Linked DNA regions of Homo sapiens: regions 2, 3, 4, 5 and 6 are each linked to region 1. The links are contacts of gene promoters, found by promoter capture Hi-C in blood cells and fetal thymus (Javierre and others, 2016). All regions are on one chromosome and are shown on one strand. The core of a region is centred on a gene start or on the middle of the fragment in contact, and the rest is flanking DNA. Distances in the headings are between cores, read along the strand shown.

Region 1 (3,597 bases), core at 734-3,233:
ACTGAGAAAATTCTGTCAGTCTCCAACAATGACTATGGGTATGCTTTTTTCCTCCTTTAGCTTTGATACTTATTCTTCATATATTTCAAAATTCTCTTACGTTCACCTATACACTTAAAATTGATAATGGCTTGTGGTTATTTACCATTTTATCATTATGAAATATTTCTCTTTGTCTCTAGAAATATTCTTTGTTGTGATGGCTACTTTTGGAAATCTGTATATGTTTATATAATTCATATATTAGCAAGGCTTCTAACATTTGGCATCTATTGTTCGTTAAACTATTATACAGAACTGAGGAAACAGTGTATACATAGGCACAGAGGCACGGACAAAAATGACAGGACTGTTTCAGGGCCAGTAAGATTTGATGAGGCCGCAGCATCAGTGAGGACAGAGGAATGGAGGTTTCCATTTGGCCCTATACGCTGTGTTATGGCTCTTGACTGTATAGCATAAAGGTCTGGGACAGTCTTTGCAGTCTCATGGTCCCAGGTTTAACTTCTGAATCTACCATTTATTAAACTTGTAACCTTGGACAAGTTACTTAACCTCTATTTCCTCATATGTAAAATGGGGACAAATAATAGCACATACTTCATGTGTTTTTAGAAAGATGAAATTATATATATATTGCATACATACACATTACGTCTATATACACAAATACAGTGCTTAGTAAAGTGTTCAATAAATATCTATTTTTATATGTATAACTAGTATTATATCATATAATATGTATATATTATATTACATGTATTATTATATATATTTTCATATAGTCTAGTCTCAATTTTCCTGCTGGCTTCAATTTTCAGAGATTTAATTAATTGCCCTTTTTGTTTGAAGTTTTCTTTTCTCCATTTGCTCCCATTCTCCCTGCCCCCACTCCCTTACCGTACTTTCTTAGTTCCCAACTTTCTGGGCCTCCTCCCTGCCCAAATTGGATTTCATAGCCTCAAGAACTGCAGACTGTACAATTAAGGTAGTTGCTGCTTGCTATCTTTCTCCTTTTGCCACTCCCCCATGAACCTCAGTAACTTGGCTACGATTTCAATTTCTGCTCTGAAAAAATGCACTTATTAGAATTTTCCAATTATCTGCAATATGAATGCAGATAACTGGGGCTGATGTACCTAGTTCAGAAACACACCCCATGTAGTTGTGATGAAAGAATAACACTTTTTGCAGAAGAAATGCTCTATATTTATGATAAATATTCTTAGCAAAAATTGTCAGTAGAGCTATAAAAGGACCTTTGGAAGGGGCACTTGAAAACTCGGCTCAGCAACTTCCTTTTCCACCTTGAAGTATCCCCTTCAAAAGAATTCCCAAACAGATGATGTTTGATGTTCCGGACCTCGCAGCATGATGCGAAAGAAAGATCATGGGTTTTGAAGTAGGTTAGTGCAGACGCCTACTCTTTGGGTTATTTCTCAGCCTGAGCGCGTTTCCTGGCTTGTAAATCGCATGTAGGAATCCTTTCCTAAATCCACATCCACAATAGTTTCCCTTATTATGGGTCTTCGTGCATCTTATACCTTTCATTATCATAGTTTCACTTTCCATTTAAGCATCTAATAACGTCAGCTTCCTATAGTGCATTGTAAGCTCCACAAGGCCAAGGACCACGAGAATTCACTGTACCCCTGTATCCCCAGGCTAAACCATCACTGTACACTCAAGAGTCTAGCACAGTGCCTGGCACACAGTAAACAGCAAGTGAATGACAAGCAGTTGGCAGTGGCCGGAGCTCCGTCGCTGGGGCGTGGAGAGGGCCGCCCCGGCCCGCAGTTCCCGCCCTGACACTGGGATAACTTCCCCCGCGGCTGCCCAGCGCCGCCCTGACCAGACCCTCTGTACCCCGACTTCTGTCCGGCCAGAAGCCACAGCCGCACGCAGCGCCTCGCCCCGTGACGTCACTCGGGGCGGGACTTCCGGCCGCCGAAGTTTAACAGTCCAGGCGGGAGCCGGAAGCCCAGCGCGGAGCCGGCCGCGGCCCCCTGTTGTGTTGCTGCGGAGAGGTGAGGTTCCGGAGGCCCTGAGGTCAGCGGGCCCCCGCCCGCCGCGTCCGCGCACCCTCCCGATCCTAAGACCCGCTCCGTCCCCCTCAGAGGGCGGGGCGGCGGTCCTTGGGCTTTGCGCGCCCGGAGCGGTTGCTGGGCGGGGGCGCGGCGGCGCGCTGGGCTGGGAAGTGTCCGGGGAGGCGCGGGCCGGGGTCGCGCACCTCCCGGAGCCTTGTGGGGTGTGCTGCCTCCGAAAAGTTTGCCTCGTCTCCACAAGTCTGTCTCCTTTTTTGTCAACCTCAAGTACTTTTCTTTTGGCAGGTACTTGGATGCATTTTACAGGTTAGCCTCACTTGAGCTGTTGTCCTGCAAGTAAAGTGTATTTTTGGTGATTGAAAGTTGGAGAACTTTCATTTCAGCTGAGTGGTGTAGTTGAATTGGTTCCTGTAGCCGCTGTCCCTAAACCCAGGCCGACGTTACCGCCTTGTGTCCTGACTGCTAGCTTTCGACGGGACCGTCTTTGAGGGACTCATGTAAAGTCTCTCCCTTAATGCTCAGTTCTTAGAAGACCGAGGTAGGTGGGCAGATGGTCCTCTTCCCCGCCCCGCTTTAAGAGCCGAAAACAAACATTAAATCACCCGGCGAGTTGTGTTTCCTAAGTTGGAGCAGGTCGTTTGAACCCAGTTTTTCTGAGCCCAGGCCTCAGTGATCTACCCACTACACCCCGCAGCTCACCAGGCCTGGTTACGATGCAGTTAGACACAGCTTGCAGTTGTGGTTTACAGGGCTTAGAGCTCGCTTTTCCAGCAATTCATTAGTTGTTCCTTGACTTGGGAACCAAGGGGGCACGTGTTACACATGTTTAAGGCTCCAAATCCAAACATTGTGTTACATCTCTGCAGGTGACTTTAATGGCTTTTAGTAGCACTGTATCGGATGAATGGAGCATAAGGAAGCACATGAGTGAATTACATTAACTTTTTGTCTCGAGAATGAAACGTTTCTATAATTCTGTCTTTAACTTGTCCTCTGAAATGGCTTATACTAGACGTAGGTGTGCTGTTGTATTGGTGACTCGGGGACCTGCCTGTGACATCACTAATGCTGTGCAGTAGTCTTGCACTTTCCATACTAGGAAGGTGTGGGAGGTATAATTCTGTGCCCTCTCCCTTTCCTTTTCTCCCATGTACTTTTGAGCATCTTTTTTTCTCACTTATCGTTCATTACTACCTGTTGCTCTTTAAAGTGCCTGTCTAGAGCAGCTTCTTTGCCTTCTGTTTTCTAGACTTCCTTGGTTTGTGAAATCACCTTGTTAGAATTACGTGTTTCAGCTGTATGCTCTGAATAAATGATTGAAGGCATCGTAGTCCAAGTATTGGTATAGGGACTTAGTGGCGTCTCATTTGACCATATTGCTAATTTTAGAGTTTTGGAAAAACTGGTGTGACTGGATTCTGACCTGCAGAAATGCTAGTTTATCATACTTTTTTTAAAAATTAGGAAGTTACTTATTAGTAGTTATTTGTTGTGAAACTGCTGTGTGCCAGGAATGTTTCAAGACTCTGGTGTGGGGAGACAGACATTATAA
Region 2 (3,597 bases), core at 401-2,900, 1.7 Mb after region 1:
TGGAGTACCACAGAGGCCAGTTGTTTTTGTCACAAGGAAGAAGCTGGTGAATGCAATTCAGCAGAAGCTCTCCAAATTGAAAGGTGAACCAGGATGGGTCACCATACATGGAATGGCAGGCTGTGGGAAGTCTGTATTAGCTGCAGAAGCTGTTAGAGATCATTCCCTTTTAGAAGGTAAGTGTCTTAGTCCATTTCATAGTCTAGTAAGGTAGATAGACATGTAAAAATATTATGATATATCAATACGTGATAAATTGAATGGTAGAAACAAGTATAAGGTACAGAGTTAGAACAAAGGAAGGATATGTTAACTCTCTGAAGGGAGGGGATGGATAGGACAAGCTTCCTGAATGAGATGACATCTTAGCAGGAGTTTGGAGAAAGAATAAAAGTTAGCTAGGCAGTGAAGGTAGGGATGGGAGACTAGGGAAGGTGGGAAAGGTAGTGGGTGGTTACTGGGGTGGGGAAGGGCATACTGGGTAGAAGAGGGTTTAAGAAATGTTGGCAGGTATACCACTGACCTTAGCGATCCTGGTAGGTTCTCAGGGTATTCATCAGGAATAGTTGTATAGCTCCATCAGTTCTAGGCTGCCCCCATTCATCAGTGTGTTCTCATTCATCAGTGTGTTCTCTCTGTATGACACTTCTAGGGGAATTCAAAGACAGTTCCCAACTTCTAGTAGTTAATAATTTTTTTTTTAGTAGGCCAGGCACGGTGGCTCATGCTTGTAATCCCAGCTGAGGCGTGGATCACCTGAGGTCAGGAGTTCAAGACCAGCCTGGGCAACATGGTGAAATCCCGTCTCTACCAAAAATACAAAAAAAATCAGCTGGGTGTGGTGGTGAGCACCTGTAATCCCAGCTACTCGGGAGGCTGAGGCAGGAGAATCACTTGAACCTAGGAGGCGGAGGTTGCAGTGAGCTGAGATCGCACCACTGCACTCCAGCCTGGTCAACAAGAGCAAGACTCCATCTCAAAAAAAAGTTTTTTGTTTTTTTTTTTTTGATATGTATGTATAACATGATCTACGGTTAAGACAGTTTAGACAGAATGATTGGAATAAGTAGTAAGCCTCTAAGAGACTTAGAAATATGGAGGCTAGGGTATATCTATGTGTACACATGGCCTCAGTTTAATTTCATAGCCTTTGTAAGTGGTATAGACTATACTCTTGTCAGAAGTATGCCTGATTCCTAACCCTTGGTTTTTCCCCTCTATCATTACAGAGAAGTTTCCTGAGACTTAGCTCCTTTCAAGTCTCAGAGCCAAGGATTTTTTTAAGCCCCTACTGCAAAGTTGATCACTAAGGATATTTCAGGATAAATTTAGCTTAAGTTCCTTTAGTGTGAAGGAATGAGTTTTCCTTTCAATATTATGAACTTTCTTTGTGTATTTATAATATTCCAATTTATAGGTTTAAAAGAACACTCCCTCTCCCCATTTAAATTGCTCTACATTATTGTGATGAATTTTCAATTCTAGGGATTAAAATTGACTAACAATCTATGGAATTAAATATTCAGGAGTCATATTGTATAAATTGTTATCTTGGAACAGGTTTTAACTACTTTGTTTTGAGAAAATCCTAGAGATACTGGCAACTGTACATGTGAGCTTAATTCATATTCCTCGTACTTTTGTGGGATCTCAAGTTCAGAGGACTGAGTTATTCATATTCCTTAGTTCACGGCTTATTATAGTAGATCTGTACTAGGCTGAGCTTTTCACTGTATTTATTTATTTCCATTTCAAAATTTCCTATTCTTATTTCCTTTCCCCTCTCCATGGACAATCCTAATGTATTTAATGTATGTTCTTTGTAAATGTCTGTGTAAAGTGTGTACTCTTGTAAAATATGTATGTTGTTGGTATGCAGGTATTTTAAATTTGCATAGATGTTATGGTATTATTCTGTTTTTTATCTCCCATGACACAATGTTTTTAAGATTTATCCTTGTTGCTATGTATACATGTTATTTGTTACACCTGATTGCCACCAACCCATTTTACTGCTCATTACCCTAAGTAAATGGATATGTAGATTGTATCCAACTCTCTGCTGCTGCAGCAAAGCTGGGTTGAACTTCTATGTGAGTAAGAATTTCTTGGGTATTTGTAGCTAGGAGCAAAATTAGTAATTATTTATTTATTTTTGTTTTTTTTTAAAGAGACAGAGTGTCACCCTGTTGCCCAGGCTGAGTGCAGTGGCCATATCATAGCTCACTGCAGCCTCAAACTTTTAGGCTCAAGTGATCCTCCCACCTTAGCCTCCTGAGGAGCTGGGTGCACACGCCACCATGCCTGGCTAATTATTTATTTATGAAACAGGGTCTTGCTTTGTCACCCAGGCTGGAGTGCAGTGGCACAATCTTGGCTCCCTGCAACCTCTGCCTTCTGGGCTCAAGTGATCTTCCCACCTCAGCCTCCGGAGTAGCTGGGACCACAGGTGCATGCTGACACACCCAGCTAATTTTTGTATTTTTTGTAGAGTTGGGGTTTTGTCATGTTACCGAGGTTGGTCTCGAACTCCTGAGCTCAAGCAATTCACCCACCTTGGCCTCCCAAAGTGCTGGAATTGCAGGTGTAAGCCACCATGCTTGGTGTGTTTTTAAACATTTTTTTGTAGAGACAGGTTTTTGCTATCTTGTCCAGGCTGGTCTCAAACTCCTGGGCTCAAGTGATGCTCCCGCCTTGGCCTCCCAAAGTGCTGGGGTTACAGATGAAAGTCACCATGTCCAGCCAAAATTACTAAATGATAGGATATACAAATACCAAATTTGATTCCCCTCCAGTCTGTACATTTCCCCCAGATGAGTATGGGGACTCCGATAATTCTACTTGTGCAGTGACGGTTGGTATGATCCAGCTTTGTAATTTTTGCCAGGCAAACTTCTATAAAGTTGTGTCTTTTACTTTGCATTTCTCTGGTAACTCAAGTTTGAACATTTCTTCATAAGCTTGTTGTTAGCCTTTTGGGTTTCTTTTTTTATGGATTTTGTTTATATTATTTGTCTATTTTCCATTGGGGTTTCCAATTTTTTTTTCTTTTTGCTTTTTAGGAGTTTCTTATATATTCTAGACATTAAACTTTGTTGGTTTTAGACTTTTATTTTATTTTATTTTATTTTTTTTGAGACGGAGTTTCGCTCTTGTTGCCCAGGCTGGAGTGCCATGGCGCGATCTTGGCTCACCACAATCTCTGCTTCCCAGGTTCAAGCGATTGTCCTGCCTCAGCCTTCTGAGTAGCTGGGATTACAGGCACCCACCACCACGCCTGGCTAATTTTGTATTTTTAGTAGAGACGGGGTTTCTCCATGTTGGTCAGGCTGGTCTCGAACTCCCGACCTCAGGTGATCCCCCTGCCTCGCCTCCCAAAGTGCTGGTATTACAGGCGTGAGCCACTGTGCTCAGCTGGTTTTAGACTTTTAAATACCTTATTTTAATTTGCCATCTGATTAATTTTTTTCCTGGGTGTTCTCAGTAGACGAGAACTCTGATGTAGTCAAACTAATCAGTTTTTTTTTTTGTCTTCTAACTTGTGTTTCCTGAGTTTTGTTCAAGTAGTCCTATTACAGTCTTATTATTCATATTTAG
Region 3 (3,597 bases), core at 462-2,961, 1.7 Mb after region 1:
GCTCTTCACTTCTGGCCGGAGTTCTTCAAGCTTACTAGTGCCCCAAATAGTCATTTAACAAGCACCTATGTGTTGGAGTGGGTAAACAAGTCTGTGTATTATGTGAAGTAACAATGTCCTTTATCTACTAATAAGACCAAGGCAAAGAGTACATGTAGATTTATTTAAAGTGCTCTTAATATCTTAGTATGAAAATTTTGTCAGATTAGCCTCTTGTTTATTTACACAACATTTTAAAATAATTTGAATATATTTTAATTAAGATCATTGAAACAAAAACAAGACATCGAAAATTTATTTGTTCCAAACTGGATTAGAAGTCTACTTACCTAAAAGAGAAATGAATTTGAAATATTAGGAGGGAGAGGAAGGTGATGTATACCATCCCTTCTAGTACTGGCAGAAATAGATAAGCTTTTCCTCCCCCCCCATTAGTTAATGTAATGGATATGAAATGTACCTTTGCTAAAACGTGTTATGCATGTCTCTTGAAGTGAATTTAGTTTATGTGCTTTTTTTTTTTAACTTGTGTTTAGTTTGTTTAGTGTTCACAAAACTTTATGCTATAAGCTACTTAAAGAACTAGCATATGTTAGGAATACAGTTATATCTATTATCTAGACAGTAGCTTTTAAAAAGTAGGAGGTGGGCCAAGCATGGTCGCCCACACCTGGAATGCCAGCATTTTGGGTAGCCGAAGCAGGTGGGTCACTTGAGGTCAGGAGTTCGAGATCAGAACTCAATCTAGCCAACATGGTGAAACCTCATCTCTGCTAAAAATACAAAAATTAGCTGGGCATGGTGGCGTGCCTGTAGTCGCAGCTACTCGGGAGGCTGAGGCAGGAGAATCGCTTGAACCTGGGAGGTGGAGGTTGCAGTGAGCTGAGATCACACCATGGCACTCCATCCTGGGCTACAGAGCAAGACTCAAAAAACAAACAAACAAAAAACACAAAAAAAGTAGTAGGAGTTGGGTGGTAAGAAATCTGTTAAGAATCAGTTTTGTTACGTATTTTTGTTGAAATTTTACCCTCTTAACTATCACTCCAAGACTTAAGTTTGACACAGAAAGCTTTTGTTGAAATTTTACCCTCTTAACTATCACTCCAAGACTTAGGTTTGACACAGAAAGCTAGACCTTAATGTACAACAGTTTCTATTTATAAAAGTAATCAAATGAACAATAATAAACAGTGATAAGCATAAACTAATAAAAGTTATATGAATGTAGTTCCTCACTCAAAATATCTTAATATTTTCAGATGTCAGTTGACCTTGGATAACTGAAGCCACAGAAAATGAACTCTTGGATAAGGGAGAGCTACTGTATTTCTTTTTTTTTTTTTGAGATGGAGTCTTGCTCTGCTGCCCAGGCTGGAGTGTAGTGGTGCCATCGTGGCTCACTGCAACCTCCACCTCCCTCCCTCAGGCTCAAGCGATTGTTCTGTCTCACCCTCACCCTCCCGAGTAGCTGGGATTACAGGTGCACGCCACCATGCCCGTCCAATTTTTTGTATTTTAGTAGAGATGGGGTTTCACTGTGTTGCCCAGGCTGGTCTTGAACTCCTGAGCTCAGGTAATCCACCTGCCTCAGCCTCCCAAAGTGCTGGGATTACAGATGTGAGCCACCGTGCCTGGCAGGAATTACTGTAGTTACCTTTTGTGTAGTTGCTGAAATTTATTATGGAACCCAAACAAAAATAATCATGAGATTAAATTTTTATGTTAGCTGTTTGGTGCATTTAATTTTTTTTTTCTTGTTTTAAATAAAGGTGGACCCCCAAAAGTACAAGGGCATATTTAACGGATTCTCAGTTACACTTAAAGAGGATGGTGTTCGTGGTTTGGCTAAAGGATGGGCTCCGACTTTCCTTGGCTACTCCATGCAGGGACTCTGCAAGTTTGGCTTTTATGAAGTCTTTAAAGTCTTGTATAGCAATATGCTTGGAGAGGTATGTAATTAACTTTAAAATTGAATGTTCCGAGTGTTTAAGACTTTCCGAGTGTTCTTAGATTTTTGTCTGTCTTGCCTTATTTTAGCACTGAAGAAAATGGTCCTACAAAGTGAGCAACTTGTTTTAAATCGTATGCCTGTGTCAGCAGAGACAGGTTGATAAATGTATTTCATTAAATTACAATTCTCCTTTTAATATACTATCTTGTTTTCTAAGTAAGTTGGATTTTGAGTTTTTTAGAGAAGGGCTCTGGGACTCCTTTGCGTAGTTCCGGGGCATGGCATCTAGATATTTTTTGAATATTCATGTTGTTCACATAGTTACGTGTTTTGTTAATGAGGTTATGAGACCACATATATATTCCATATCATCGTGTGTTACTTTATAAAATGTCTGAAGCTTAGTTGTTTTCTAGAACTGTCACTTCAATTGAAAACCAACACAACAGCAATTCACATCCCTTCCTTGTGTTTTGGATTTTAGGAGAATACTTATCTCTGGCGCACATCACTATATTTGGCTGCCTCTGCCAGTGCTGAATTCTTTGCTGACATTGCCCTGGCTCCTATGGAAGCTGCTAAGGTTCGAATTCAAACCCAGCCAGGTTATGCCAACACTTTGAGGGATGCAGCTCCCAAAATGTATAAGGAAGAAGGCCTAAAAGCGTAAGTAAACACTTAAAAATTTATACTATGAAAGTACTTATTTTAAGTGAACTTCATTTTTTTTTGTTTTTTTTTTTGTTTTGTTTTTTTGAGACAAAGTCTCGCTCTGTCACCCAGGCTGGAGTGCAGTGGCGTGATCTCGGCTCACTGCAAGCTCCGCCTCCCGGGTTCACGCCATTCTCCTGCCTCAGCCTCCCAAGTAGCTGGGACTACAGGCGCCTGCCACTGCGCCCAGCTAATTTTTTGTATTTTTCAGTATAGACGGAGTTTCACCGTCTCCATCTCCTGACCTCATGATCCGCCCACCTTGGCCTCCCAAAATGCTGGGATTACAGGTGTGAGCCACCGCACCCGGCTTCTTTTTTTTTTTTCTTTGAGACGGAGTTTTGCTCTTGTTGTCCAGGCTGGAGTGCAATGGCACTATCTCAGCTCACTGCAACCTCCGCCTCCCAGGTTCAAGTGATTGTCCTGCCTCAGCCTGCTGAATAGCTGGGATTACAGGCATGCACCACCACGCCTGGCTAATTTTGTATTTTTAGTAGAGACTCCATGTTGGTCAGGCTGGTCTCGAACTCCTGACCTCAGGTGATCCACCCGCCTCGGCCTCCCAAAGTGCTGGGATTACAGGCGTGAGACACCGCGTCTGGCTGTGAACTTCATTTTTTAGTATTAAGCCTACCAGACTTTTTAAAAAGACTATTATAACATTTAATGTCTATTTACCTGTATGTAGAACATAAACTTGAGAGGTAAAGATAAGTTAATACATGGTTTGAGCCCTGGACTGAGTTTTTTTTTTTTCCCTAGAGTAAGGACCATTTGTCGGTCTACAAATGACTTGATGTTTGGCCTAAACATTTACTATTAACTTTTAGGGAGGGCTTGTTAGTATCCTTGTGATCTATTCACAGTTAAGAATTTCCATGACCACAACATGCTTCCTTAGATCCACCTTTGTGGATGAATCTTGAACTGAG
Region 4 (3,597 bases), core at 378-2,877, 1.6 Mb after region 1:
CCTTGTTGAGCTGCCAGACCAACCCCAACATCACTCAAGAGAATTGTTGTGAGTTAGAAATGGGAGAGAAGTTGGGCATGTGTTTCATGCCTATAATTCCAGCACTTTGGGAGGCCGAGGCAGGCAGATCACTTGAGGCCAGGAGTTCGACACCAGTCTGGCCAACCTAGTGAAACCCTGTCTCTACTAAAAAATACAAAACTTACCCGGGCATGGTGGCATGCCTATAATCCCAGCTACTCTGGAGGCTGAGGCAGAAGAACTGCTTGAAGCCGAGAGGCAGAGGTTGCAACAAGCTGGGATCACGCCATTGCACTCCAGCCTGGGTGACAGAAAGAAGCTTGTCTCAAAAAAAAAAAAAAAAAGAAAGAAAAGAGAAGAAAAAATGGGAGAAAGACTTTCCTCTCCATACCTTATACCTCCTGGTATCTGGTACTTTTTGAACTTTGTTCTGTGTGCATGAATTGCCTATTCAAATAAAACTGTAATGCCTGAGGTTTTTTTGTTTGTTTGTTTGTTGTTGTTTTTTTTTGAGATGGAGTTTCACTCTTGTTGCCCAGGCTAGAGTGCAATGGTGTGATCTCGGCTCACTGCAACCTCTACCTCCCAGGTTCAAGCAATTCTCCTGCCTCAGCCTCCCGAGCTGGGATTACAGGCGCATGCCACCATGCCAGGCTAATTTTGTATTTTTAGTAGAGATGGGGTTTCACCATGTTGGCCAGGCTGCTCTCGAACTCCTGACCTCAGGTGATCTACCCGCCTCAGCCTCCCAAAGTGCTGGGATTGCAGGCATGGGCCACCACGCCTGAGATCTTATCAATCAAGTATTTAAACCAAAAATATTTTACATCTACATTTTTTTAGTGGAAATACAATTTTAAAAAGCACAGTTTAGCCAGGTGCAGTGGCTCACACCTGCAATCCCAGCACTTTGGAAGGCTGAGGCAGGCAGATCACCTGAGGTCTGGAGTTCAAAACCAGTCTGGCCAACATGGCGAAATCCTGTCTCTACTAAAAATACAAAAAAAAAGAAAAAAAAAATCAGCCAGGCATGGTGGCGGACGCCTGTAATCCCAGCTACTCGGGAGGCTGAAGCAGGGAGAAATGCTTGAACCCGGGAGGTGGAGGTTGCAGTGAGCCGAGATCGTGGCACTATACTCCAGCCTGGGTGACAGAGTGAGACTCGGGCTCAAAAAAAAAAAAAAAAGGCACAGTTTGAGGGTGGGGGCTCGCACATGTAATCCCAGAACTTTAGAAGGCTGAGGAGGGAGGATCTCCTAAGCCCAAGAGACCAGGCTGGGCAACAAAGTGAGATCTCATCTCTATAAAAACCAAACAAAACAGTCTGGTGAAAAATGCGATAGAATGAAGTATATTATAGACAAAAGGGACCTTCAGTATCAACTCTCACATATTGATTGTCGATGAAGAAAAGAGTCAAACTCTGTAAAATATTTGAAGAGACTTATTCTGAGCCAAATATGAGTGACCATGGCCAGTGACACAGCCCCAGGAAATCCTGAGAACGTGTGCTCAAAGTGGTCGGACTACAGCTTTTTATTACACATTTTAGAGAGACAGAAGACATCAAAAAATACATGTAAGATGTACATTGGTTCAGTGAGGGTGGATGGGGCGCTTCTACATCATGAGTGAATTCAAAGATTTTCTGATTGGGAGTTAGTTGAAAGAGTTTATCTAAAGACCTGAAATTTATAGAAGGGAGTGCCTGAATTAAGATAAGGGGTTGCGAAAACCAAGGTTCTTGTTATGCAGATAAAGCCTCCAGGTAGCAGGCTTCAGAAAGAACACATTGTAATTATTTCTGGGTCTCACTCCATCACCCAGGCTGGAGTGCAGTGGTGCAATCTCAGCTAACTGCAGCCTCAACCTCCCAGGCTCAAGCCATCCTCGCACCTCTCAGCCTCTGGAGTAGCTGGGATTACAGATGCGCGCCACTACGTCCTGGTAATTTTTGTATTTTTAGTAGAGACAGGGTTTCACCGTGTTGCCCAGACTTATCTCGAACTCCTGGGCTCAAGCAACCCACCTGCCTCGGCTTCCCAAAGTGCTGGGATTACAGGAGTGGGCCACAGCACCAGGTCAGATTGTAAAACTTTTAATTTTTATTTATTTTTTTTATTTTATTTTATTTTATTTTATTTTTTGAGACGAAGTTTCGCTCTTGTTGCCCAGGCTGGAGTGCAATGGTGTGATCTCGGCTCACTGCAACCTCCACCTCCCAGGTTCAAGTAATTCTCCTGCCTCAGCCTCCCAAGTAGCTAGGATTACAGGCGCCCACACCCCCACCCCATGCCTGGCTAATTTTTGTATTAGCCAGAGATGGGGTTTCACCATGTTGGCCTGGCTGGTCTCGAACTCCTGACCTTCAGGTGATTCACCTGCCTTGGCCTCCCAAAGTGCTGGGATTATAGGCGTGAGTCACCATGCCCAGCCAAAAATTTTATTTTTTACCTTTTTAAGGTGCAAGACTCTCAGTAAATTCTCTCCTGGTTAAGGAAAAATATCTGGAAAGGGAAGGGGATTCTCTACTGAAAGTAGATTTTCCCCACAAGAGACACCTTTGCAGGGCCATTTCAAAATGTGTCAAAAATATATATATATTTTTTGGGGTAAACTACTTCAATTTACTTCAGGGCCTGCTGTCTGTCATGTTGGTATCTTACTGCTACAAAAAGCCTTCTTTGTCAGACTTATGTTAATGCTGGTCAGATGTGCCTGAATCCCAAAGGGACTCTGTCCCAAAGGGAGGAGAGTATAATGAGGCTTGTCTGACCACCTGTTCCCATCATGACATGAACTAGCGTTTCAGGTAACTTTGGAATGCCCCTGGACAAGGAGGCATCCATTCAACTGATTGGGGAGCTTAGAATTTTATTTTTGGTCTACATGGTAAAGCTTAAAGTTGCGGAAATCATTATCCTCAGTCAAGCTAAAGCCTAGGTATCCAGACCTCTCTTTCACCTAATTTATTTGCAATTAATCCAAAGTTCTAGGCCAGGCACAGTGACTCACACCTGTAAACCCAGTCCTTTGGGAGGCGGAAGCATGGAGGATCACCCGAGGCCAGGAATTCAAGGCTGCAGTGAGCTAAGATTGCACCACTGCTCTCCCGCCTGGGTGACAGAGCAAGACCCTGTCTCTAAAAGAAATTTTTAAAACAAATAACAAAGTACTGGTTTATGCTGTATTTATAAAACAACATATGTAGTAAGATTTTCTTAGTTTTAGAACCCAGAAAGCTGTGCCAAATGCTTTGAGAGTTGACTTATTTCCTATTAGGTTTTTTAAATACTTGCAGTCCAGATACTGCTTTTAATTTTTTAAAAAACAGTATCCATACTTACAGGCTCTGATTAAGTTTCAAAGACTAAGCCTGCCATGCTTGTCGGTGTGTGATTCCTTCCTCTAAGATTCCAGACATTCCCGTCTCCAGGCATCACTGTGTCGGGGGAGCGCTGTGTGAAAATGGCTGTGATCTTTGTGCGGTTTGTCCGGTTATACCTCACTGGGACACCAGAGGGCGCAAGGAGGGCCAGCACTTGTTTTTCTTTAAATCTCGAATCAAAGTCCATG
Region 5 (3,597 bases), core at 746-3,245, 1.5 Mb after region 1:
TCTGCATCACGAATCCCTCCTTATTAAAAATAATTAGTAGAGATAGCGCATAAGTCACTTTTAAAGCCCCCCTTTTCTCTAATTATCCTCCTAAATACATACCAAGACCTATTCACCAAAGACTGTCCTGGATATTTTAGAAAATGTCTTTTAACTCTATCCAAAAAAAGTTTAAGCAAGAAATTCTTTTCCCTCAGGCCAACTGAAATAATAATTAAACTGACTGCTATGGTTTACATGCATCTCCCAAATTTCATTTGCTGGAAACTTAATCCTCAGATTCATATGTTGATGGAATTTGGAGGAGGGACCTTTCAAAAGTAATTAGGATTAGACATGCTCATCAGGGTAGGACCCCTGTGATGGGACTGCTGGCTTTATAAAAAGAGGAAAAGAGACCTGAGCTGGCACACTCTTGCCCTTCACCATGTGATGCCCTCTGCCATGTTATGACACAGCAAGAAGGCTTTCACCAGATGTCAGCACCATGATTTTGGACTTCCCAGCCTCCAGAACTGTGAACTAAATAAAATTTTCTTTAGCATTACCTAATCTGTGGCATTCTGTTATAGCAACAGAAAATGGACCAAGACACTGACTTTTTTCCTTGTTTTTCAATCTCACTCCTTTTCACTATTAAATTTTGGCTGCCATGTTTTAGCTGAGAATTAATCCTCCTCAAAATTAAAATTTTATTAGAAAGCACAGATAAATCCACAACCACCATCAAAGTTTCATGGGATTTTGTGTATTTTTCTGAAGATTCTGCAGAAATTTTGCACAAAACAAGAATGTGTACTTTGTGGGACACATTTTTTAAAACCTATCTAAACCCTGACTTTCTATATACTCTAACAGCAATACCAGTAAGATCATTTTACATTCATGGTCATTCTAACCTGGCTGTTCTCCTTATCAAACGTGTGACCTGGATGAGGCACCTCACCCATTTGAGATTTGGTTTGTTTGCCTTTAAAATGAAAATAATAATTAAGCTTCCATTTAAGGACAAGTTCAAAGCAAAAGGTGAATTGGGCCTATGTTTCTGAGTAATGCTGAAAATGCTCTAGTTTTCCAGAACGTTGGTACCTTGGCCATACTCTCTCCTTAGCACACCCCCACTCCTGCTCCACTTAAAAACAAGTCATGCTTTTTGTTGTTTTTTGATGCTTATTCCCCTCTGCCTGAAATTCCCCAACTTCTCTATCTCAAGCTGATCACTCCTTCACTCCCTACTCTGTTTCATGACAGCTTATCTCATCATATTATATTATATTTATTTATGTCACTAGTTCTCCTAAATAGATAGTTTGTTCCTTGAGGTGGCAAGAAGGTCTTATTCATCCCTGTATCCTTAGCCCCTAGCAAATTTCCTGGCATAAAATATGCATTGACTGAATAAATGAATGTATGACAATGCGTAAAAAGTCTAGTAGAAACATGCCAATTATGGGGAGACTAAAAATTCTAATAGTATATATCAAGGAATCACTATGTTTATTAACTATTGGTTTTGTATCCATTCAAATATCATGAGCAATTTTAATTAATGGTAGTATGTGCAAAGATGAGAACTTCTTTTAACCAGATTCATTCTATGTAAAGTCACCCTCTGCCTCTTATTCTTCACTTCTCTTATTTCCATCACAGGAATAATCACAATTTATAACAATTTCCTCTTATTGTTGCTATTTTTCTCCTCTAGAAGTTCTTGATTTTGTCTGTCTTGATCATGGCTGAGGCACAGTCCCAGTACGCTGTAGGTGTCCAAAAAATATTTGTTCAGGGCCAGGCACAGTGGCTCACACCTGTAATCCCAGCATTTTGGGAGGCAGAGGTGGGTGAATTGCTTGAGCTCAGGAGTTCGAGACCAGCCTAGGCAACACAGTGAAATTACATCTCTGAAAAAACACAAAAATTAGCTGGGTATGGTGGTGTGTGCCTGCAGTCCCAGCTAGTCAGGAAGCTGAGATGGGAGGATTGCTTGAGCCCAGGAGGCGTAGGTTGCAGTGAGCCGAGATCACACCACTGCACTCCAGCCTGGGTGATAGATCCCTACTCTATCTAAAAAAAAAAAAAAAAAAAAAAAAAAAAAATTATTCAGGAAATGAGTGAAACCACCAAGTATGGAAGCAAATCTCTTATAGAATCTCTCCATGCCATCAACTACTTGTATTAAATTCCCAAGATGATTAAGGGAAATCAGAATTTCAGCCTTTTGGGGGAACCTAAAGAGGCACAATAAATAGCACTCTCTTCTCCTTTCTGAACAAATTGAGTAGTAAAGCAATGGGGCTGTAGTTAGAGGATCAAAATTTTACCTTTAATCAAGCTGAAATCAAAAAACTTGGTAAGTGGCCCCATCATACTCAATCTCAGAATTGTATAAACTCGACCTCAAATCTCAGCAGTCTCTCTCTGTTTGAGGGTAGGGGAGCTAATTTTTTCCTTAAAAATTATGGAGTAGGAGAGCAGAGGAGAACACAGGTTTCCTGGACAGCTCATCCCAAGAACAAGGGCAGCAAGATGTGGGTCCCAAATGCACAGTTCGTGAGTCCATGCTGGCTGATCAGAGGCAGCACTTCACCTCCCACAGACAGAGGGAGGGAGGAAACCAAGAGACCAGTAAACTAATGGGGCTCCCAGTCTCTCCAGTGGAATAAAACATCAAGACTGGAGTTTCCTTTCTCCCACCCCCACCTTGCCTTGACTTCAGATACACCTATTTTCAGATGCTGTCTGTAGAGAGCCTGAATTTGGCCAAGTGCATTAAGCCCACCAGGCCAATGTTAATGATTACAGGAGAAAACATCACTCTCATGTCAACAAAATAAACAGAGGTTCAGGCAGCCTAAATAATTTAGCCTTTTTTCATCATTATTGGAATGCACAATACTATTGGCCAGTAATATAACTATGAAAAAAAATAAAAACCCTAGGAAATAATGCTTTCTATCACTTTCATTGATCTATCTTTGGTTGTGTGGCTTGCTCTAAAGCTTCCCAGCCAGCTTGCTCCCTGATTTGGCCCAAATCACTCCCAAGCCACTGAGCTTCTGGTGAAGGTAGTAGGAACCTTGCCTTGGTCAGCAGAGGCCACACAGAATAGCCCTTTCTTAAATATTCAAGATCCTCTGTCTGAAGTTGTTCTTTTCCTGGATGGTCAAAGATCCTGAGGAATTCTCTGACAGCAGTTCTCTCTGGCTGGCAAAGCAAGATAGAGGAAGACGGGAGAAGAGCAAGGAAGACACCCTTAACATTCTTCAAAAATACTTCTTCAAGATGCCATAAGGAGAGGCATTTTCCCCAGATCTTCCAGCCTACGAGGAGGGTGCAGAGCTTCTATGGAGGGGTTAAAAATAATTTTATCACTTGGATAAAACAGAGAGAAAAATCCAAATGTAAATGTTTGAAGATGTGGTCTTTTCAGGTGCCTTCCTTTTGAACTCGAAGGAGAAAACGTAAAGGGGGAGAAAGGCCCTTAAAACCACTATGTAGTTTTGCTTTTTTTTTTCTACTTTGCTTTTCCCTTGTGTAGAACAAACTCTTAGGTTACATCCCAGCCTAGAATAAATCTTCTGGGCTGAATGATAAATC
Region 6 (3,597 bases), core at 275-2,774, 1.5 Mb after region 1:
CTTTGGGAGGCCCAGGCGGGCAGATCACCTGAGGTCAGGAGTTCAAGACCAGCCTGGACAACATGGTGAAACCCTGTCTCTACTAAAAATACAAAAATTAGCCGGGCGTGGTGGCAGGCACCTGTAATCCCAGCTACTCAGGAGGCTGAGGCAGGAGAATCATTTGAACCCAGGAGGCAGAGATTGCAGTGAGCCGAGGTCACGCCACTGCACTCCAGCCTGGGAGACAAACCGAGACTCTGTCTCAAGAAAAAAAAAAAAAAGAAAAAAAGGAAAAATGCTTGCTGACTCTCTGCACGAAGGTAACCTTCGGAAGCAGGGAGGTCTGGCCATCTTGTTTTACTACCCTCGTGTTTCTCCCAGGTAAACCTCAGGGAATGGCCACCACTGGCTCCTGATCTGTGGCCGAACATCTACTCTCCTCCCTCCAGGTCCTTTGCCATTTTTTCTCTTCCGGAACCTTCCAGTATTCCAAAATAAATACTGTATTTTTAAATCTGAAAATTTAGAACACATTCCAGTTACTTATCTGGATTTTTTTAAAACAAGAAAGGACTCCCAATTGCTGCAGTCAGTCTTTTAGAAAAGCAAAGAATTTTCTCTCTTGGGGAGTTGCTACATATGACGCTATTCTGTTTTGAAGGATCTTAGATAAGTCTTCAATTTTGTAAAGTTTTGAGATTAATAATACCTTAGGGGGAAAAACGCTGAAAGGTAGGCAGGTCTTGTCACAGTAAAAGAAAAGATTCTTTCCTGCTTTGCTGTGATTAGCTGCATAAGTTGTGGTGCGAGTTCCAGTGCTAAATGAATTAGTATGCATCCCACCCAGAGTACTGTTTGTTGAAGTAAAATGCTTACAATCTTTGCTTGGGGGAGGAAAAAAAAAGGGTATGTCATTGAGTGAATATGAATTAATCAGTACTTTATGGACAGAACCCATAATTTTAAAGCAGGGAAAAAAAGCCGAGGCATTTATCAGAGTTCCACTCAGCAATCTCCCTCTGTCATTGCTAATAAATCTTTTATGAAATGGAGTTTTGCAATCTTTGCAGGAACATTACCCACCCCCCACCTTTTCTTTGCAGGAAAAAAATAAGTTAGCATCCATCTCTAATATTTTACCCTCCCTTCCTTATTTGAGTGTCCTGTACTCAGAAAAAATCTCTGAAGCTCTTTATTTTTAAAGCTTTTTTCTCCCCCAATTTATAATGTTAAGACCTCTTTCATCAGAAGAAATAATTCATCTAAGTCTTCTCACAGGAGATTTAAGGAAAGAAGCTGAGTTTCAGGTGAGGAATGCAATATTTTTAATAAGTGTAATATCCCGGGCCTGCTAAACAATCAATATTTATAGATAGAGTGATAAAGTCCGTCGGGAAATAGAGTTTGGAGATGGGTAAGAGGATAATTAAAGGATAAAACATTCCAATTCAAATGTTTTATAATTTTCCTATCGCTACTCACAGAATCAAGATTCTGCCGAATTATAGACAGCCTGCCAATAACCTCATGATGCCCGGATTTAATTAGGATTTTATGCTCCCACCTGAAGGTTAGGTTCATTAGCTGTAAAATAAGCCACTGGATGTCTGGATTAAGAATTAAAGGGAACCCTAAGTGTAGAGTGGCACGTAGCCAGTTTCTAGCCACTTAAACCGTGCAAATGGACGTGTGATCATTTTCCCCGAGGTTGGTAACTTTTTATTTTTAGCCACAAATCCACAGGCCATTTCTCTTGGTTAGGGCTGGGACCTGATGGCGGTCGAAAACTTAAAAAGGTACACGACTGAGGAACAAGTTGTTAAGAGGCTATTATGAAGGGTTGACGGGAGGGGGTGGGAGGTGCATAATGATTTTGCCATTAAGCTTTCGTTCCATTTTACAGCTTGGATTTATTTATAACAACAGGTGGTGGTATTTGTGGGGAATTGCTTGTTTTTTCATTTGAGAAGGGCAGCTCCATACATCTGCTGGGAGGTGAAACAAAACCTTTTCCAAACACCCGTTTCCTCGCTTTGTGCATCACCATTAGGAAGGAAGAATTTGTAGCAAAAGGCCACCCTGCCATTATTTCTTCCTGATGACACTCATTTAGCAGCCATTAAAATGCAAATAGAACTATGATTTTTAGATCACAAAATTAACATTAACGGTTGGATGATTGATTAAAGGTCATGGCAACGGTATAACTTAATTTCTTAGATAATTGTGTTCGGTTTTCTGCAGACTGTTTGGGTTTCCGAATTAATTTTATCTGTTGTTGAACACTGACAGGTGCAGTAATTGGCACAATCTCCTTTGAGCTCATTTCTTCCCGTGCACCTTGCCCTCTTTTCTTCCCCGAAGCCGTTGCCTACAACACAGAAGAGAAGGCCAAACTGGCCAGCTTGCATCAGTGGACTTATGCATCTGGGTGAGGTCACTAGAGGGGTTATTACAGAGCTGCGAAGCCCCAGATAGAATTTCATTCTCTGGCTAACAAGTTTTCCCTCTAAGAACTCCCTGCATCAGGCTCACTGTGGTAAAAAATGACCCCTGGGCCTGAGGCTAGCCTCCTCAGATCCCTGGGCGAAGGATCCCATCTCAGACCCATTTTTCTTTAATGGAGGCAATAAGGCATGGGATAGAGGTAATAATAACCCCACCGGCTTTTCGTGTCACCTTTCTATGTGAGAGTTCAGGCAGTGACCCAGGAAGCTGAGATGGGAAGTGGATGGAGATTGGGTCTATCTGCAGTGCTTCTCAAATGTCAAAAAATAAAATACAGATGGTGCTTACTTGGCAGGCTACATACCTTCCTCAATCCCGATAAATATGGAACCCTGTACTGTAAAGCCAAGAATTCACAGAAGCAGCACCATAGTGCTGAGAAAATTGAGTTAAACTTTATTATAATTACTATTACTATTAACTCTCAAAATGATTTTTCCTAGAAGTTTCAAAAGACTTCATTTTATCATGATGGGTTCTATTTTGCAAACTTCTGTCTATCAGCTAGATTCCAACTCAAATCATATCCTCTCCTTCTTATGAAGTCTTAGACTAATGCTTCACAGCCAGTTCCTAACTGACTGGTCCTGCCCTCTGAGAGCTCACAGTCTGGTGGGAGAGGCCTTGCACATGAAGCAATTAAAGAATAATGCAGAGTGGTATGCTAAGCCATTGCCAGATGTAAGATCCTTAAGGTCACAACCATGTTTCATCAGGCTTTAATTCAACACACGTAATCATTCAACAAACATATGTTGAACATCTTTTATGTGCCAGGCTCTGTGCCCCAGTATCTAGGATATTCTAGAACACAGTCCCTTCAGAACGTAACTTATAGCCTCTGATGGAGTACAAGAAAGGGGTAATAAGCAATAGACAATATTTAAAAGTGAGCTGAGGCCAGATGCAGTGGCTCACGCCTGTAATCCCAGCACTTTGGGAGGCCAAGGCAGGAGAATCATTTGAGCCCAAGGGTTGAGACCAGCCTAGGCAACATGGTGAAACCCCCTCTCTACAAAAAATACAAAAATTAGCTGGGCATGGGGGTGTGCACCTGTAGTCCCAGCTACTCAGGAGGCTGAGGTGGGATGATCACTTGAGCCTGGG

Evidence for each region. The method cuts DNA at HindIII sites, captures the fragments that hold promoters and counts their contacts. A CHiCAGO score of 5 or more calls a contact.
Region 2: a fragment that was not itself captured here is called in contact with the fragment with the promoter of NEDD1 in region 1 in 1 of 17 cell types (total CD4 T cells); the score reaches 5.2 in total CD4 T cells.
Region 3: a contact is called between a fragment that was not itself captured here and the fragment with the promoter of NEDD1 in region 1, in 1 of 17 cell types (total CD8 T cells). The highest score is 5.7, in total CD8 T cells.
Region 4: a contact is called between a fragment that was not itself captured here and the fragment with the promoter of NEDD1 in region 1, in 1 of 17 cell types (total CD8 T cells). The highest score is 5.7, in total CD8 T cells.
Region 5: a fragment that was not itself captured here is called in contact with the fragment with the promoter of NEDD1 in region 1 in 2 of 17 cell types (total CD8 T cells and M2 macrophages); the score reaches 7.3 in total CD8 T cells.
Region 6: a fragment that was not itself captured here is called in contact with the fragment with the promoter of NEDD1 in region 1 in 2 of 17 cell types (M1 macrophages and M0 macrophages); the score reaches 7.5 in M1 macrophages.

What each region holds. Positions count from the first base shown.
Region 1 is chr12:96,905,274-96,908,870 of GRCh38, forward strand. It overlaps NEDD1 (NEDD1 gamma-tubulin ring complex targeting factor), which reads left to right and starts at 1,984. Exons shown (of 16, transcript NM_152905.4): 1 at 1,984-2,027; 2 at 2,331-2,583. RefSeq lists a silencer at 2,017-2,296 and enhancers at 2,537-2,626, 2,667-2,806. The HindIII fragment of the contact is 8,934 bases long and covers 1-3,597 here.
Region 2 is chr12:98,649,509-98,653,105 of GRCh38, forward strand. APAF1 (apoptotic peptidase activating factor 1) reads left to right here. Exons shown (of 27, transcript NM_181861.2): 4 at 1-176. Among named protein-coding and RNA genes, the nearest start is that of APAF1, 6.0 kb to the left of the region's middle. RefSeq lists an enhancer at 1-1,054. The HindIII fragment of the contact is 2,616 bases long and covers 343-2,958 here.
Region 3 is chr12:98,596,084-98,599,680 of GRCh38, forward strand. It overlaps SLC25A3 (solute carrier family 25 member 3), which reads left to right. Exons shown (of 8, transcript NM_002635.4): 4 at 1,773-1,952; 5 at 2,439-2,620. It overlaps SNORA53 (small nucleolar RNA, H/ACA box 53), which reads left to right and starts at 3,552; the gene lies at 3,552-3,597. The HindIII fragment of the contact is 1,282 bases long and covers 1,071-2,352 here.
Region 4 is chr12:98,487,626-98,491,222 of GRCh38, forward strand. All of the region lies in intron 3 of LINC02453 (long intergenic non-protein coding RNA 2453), which reads right to left. Among named protein-coding and RNA genes, the nearest start is that of TRD-GTC1-1, 14 kb to the right of the region's middle. RefSeq lists a silencer at 2,906-3,200. The HindIII fragment of the contact is 2,579 bases long and covers 339-2,917 here.
Region 5 is chr12:98,410,076-98,413,672 of GRCh38, forward strand. No RefSeq gene overlaps it. Among named protein-coding and RNA genes, the nearest start is that of TRD-GTC1-1, 92 kb to the right of the region's middle. The HindIII fragment of the contact is 2,004 bases long and covers 994-2,997 here.
Region 6 is chr12:98,386,664-98,390,260 of GRCh38, forward strand. No RefSeq gene overlaps it. Among named protein-coding and RNA genes, the nearest start is that of TRD-GTC1-1, 120 kb to the right of the region's middle. The HindIII fragment of the contact is 680 bases long and covers 1,185-1,864 here.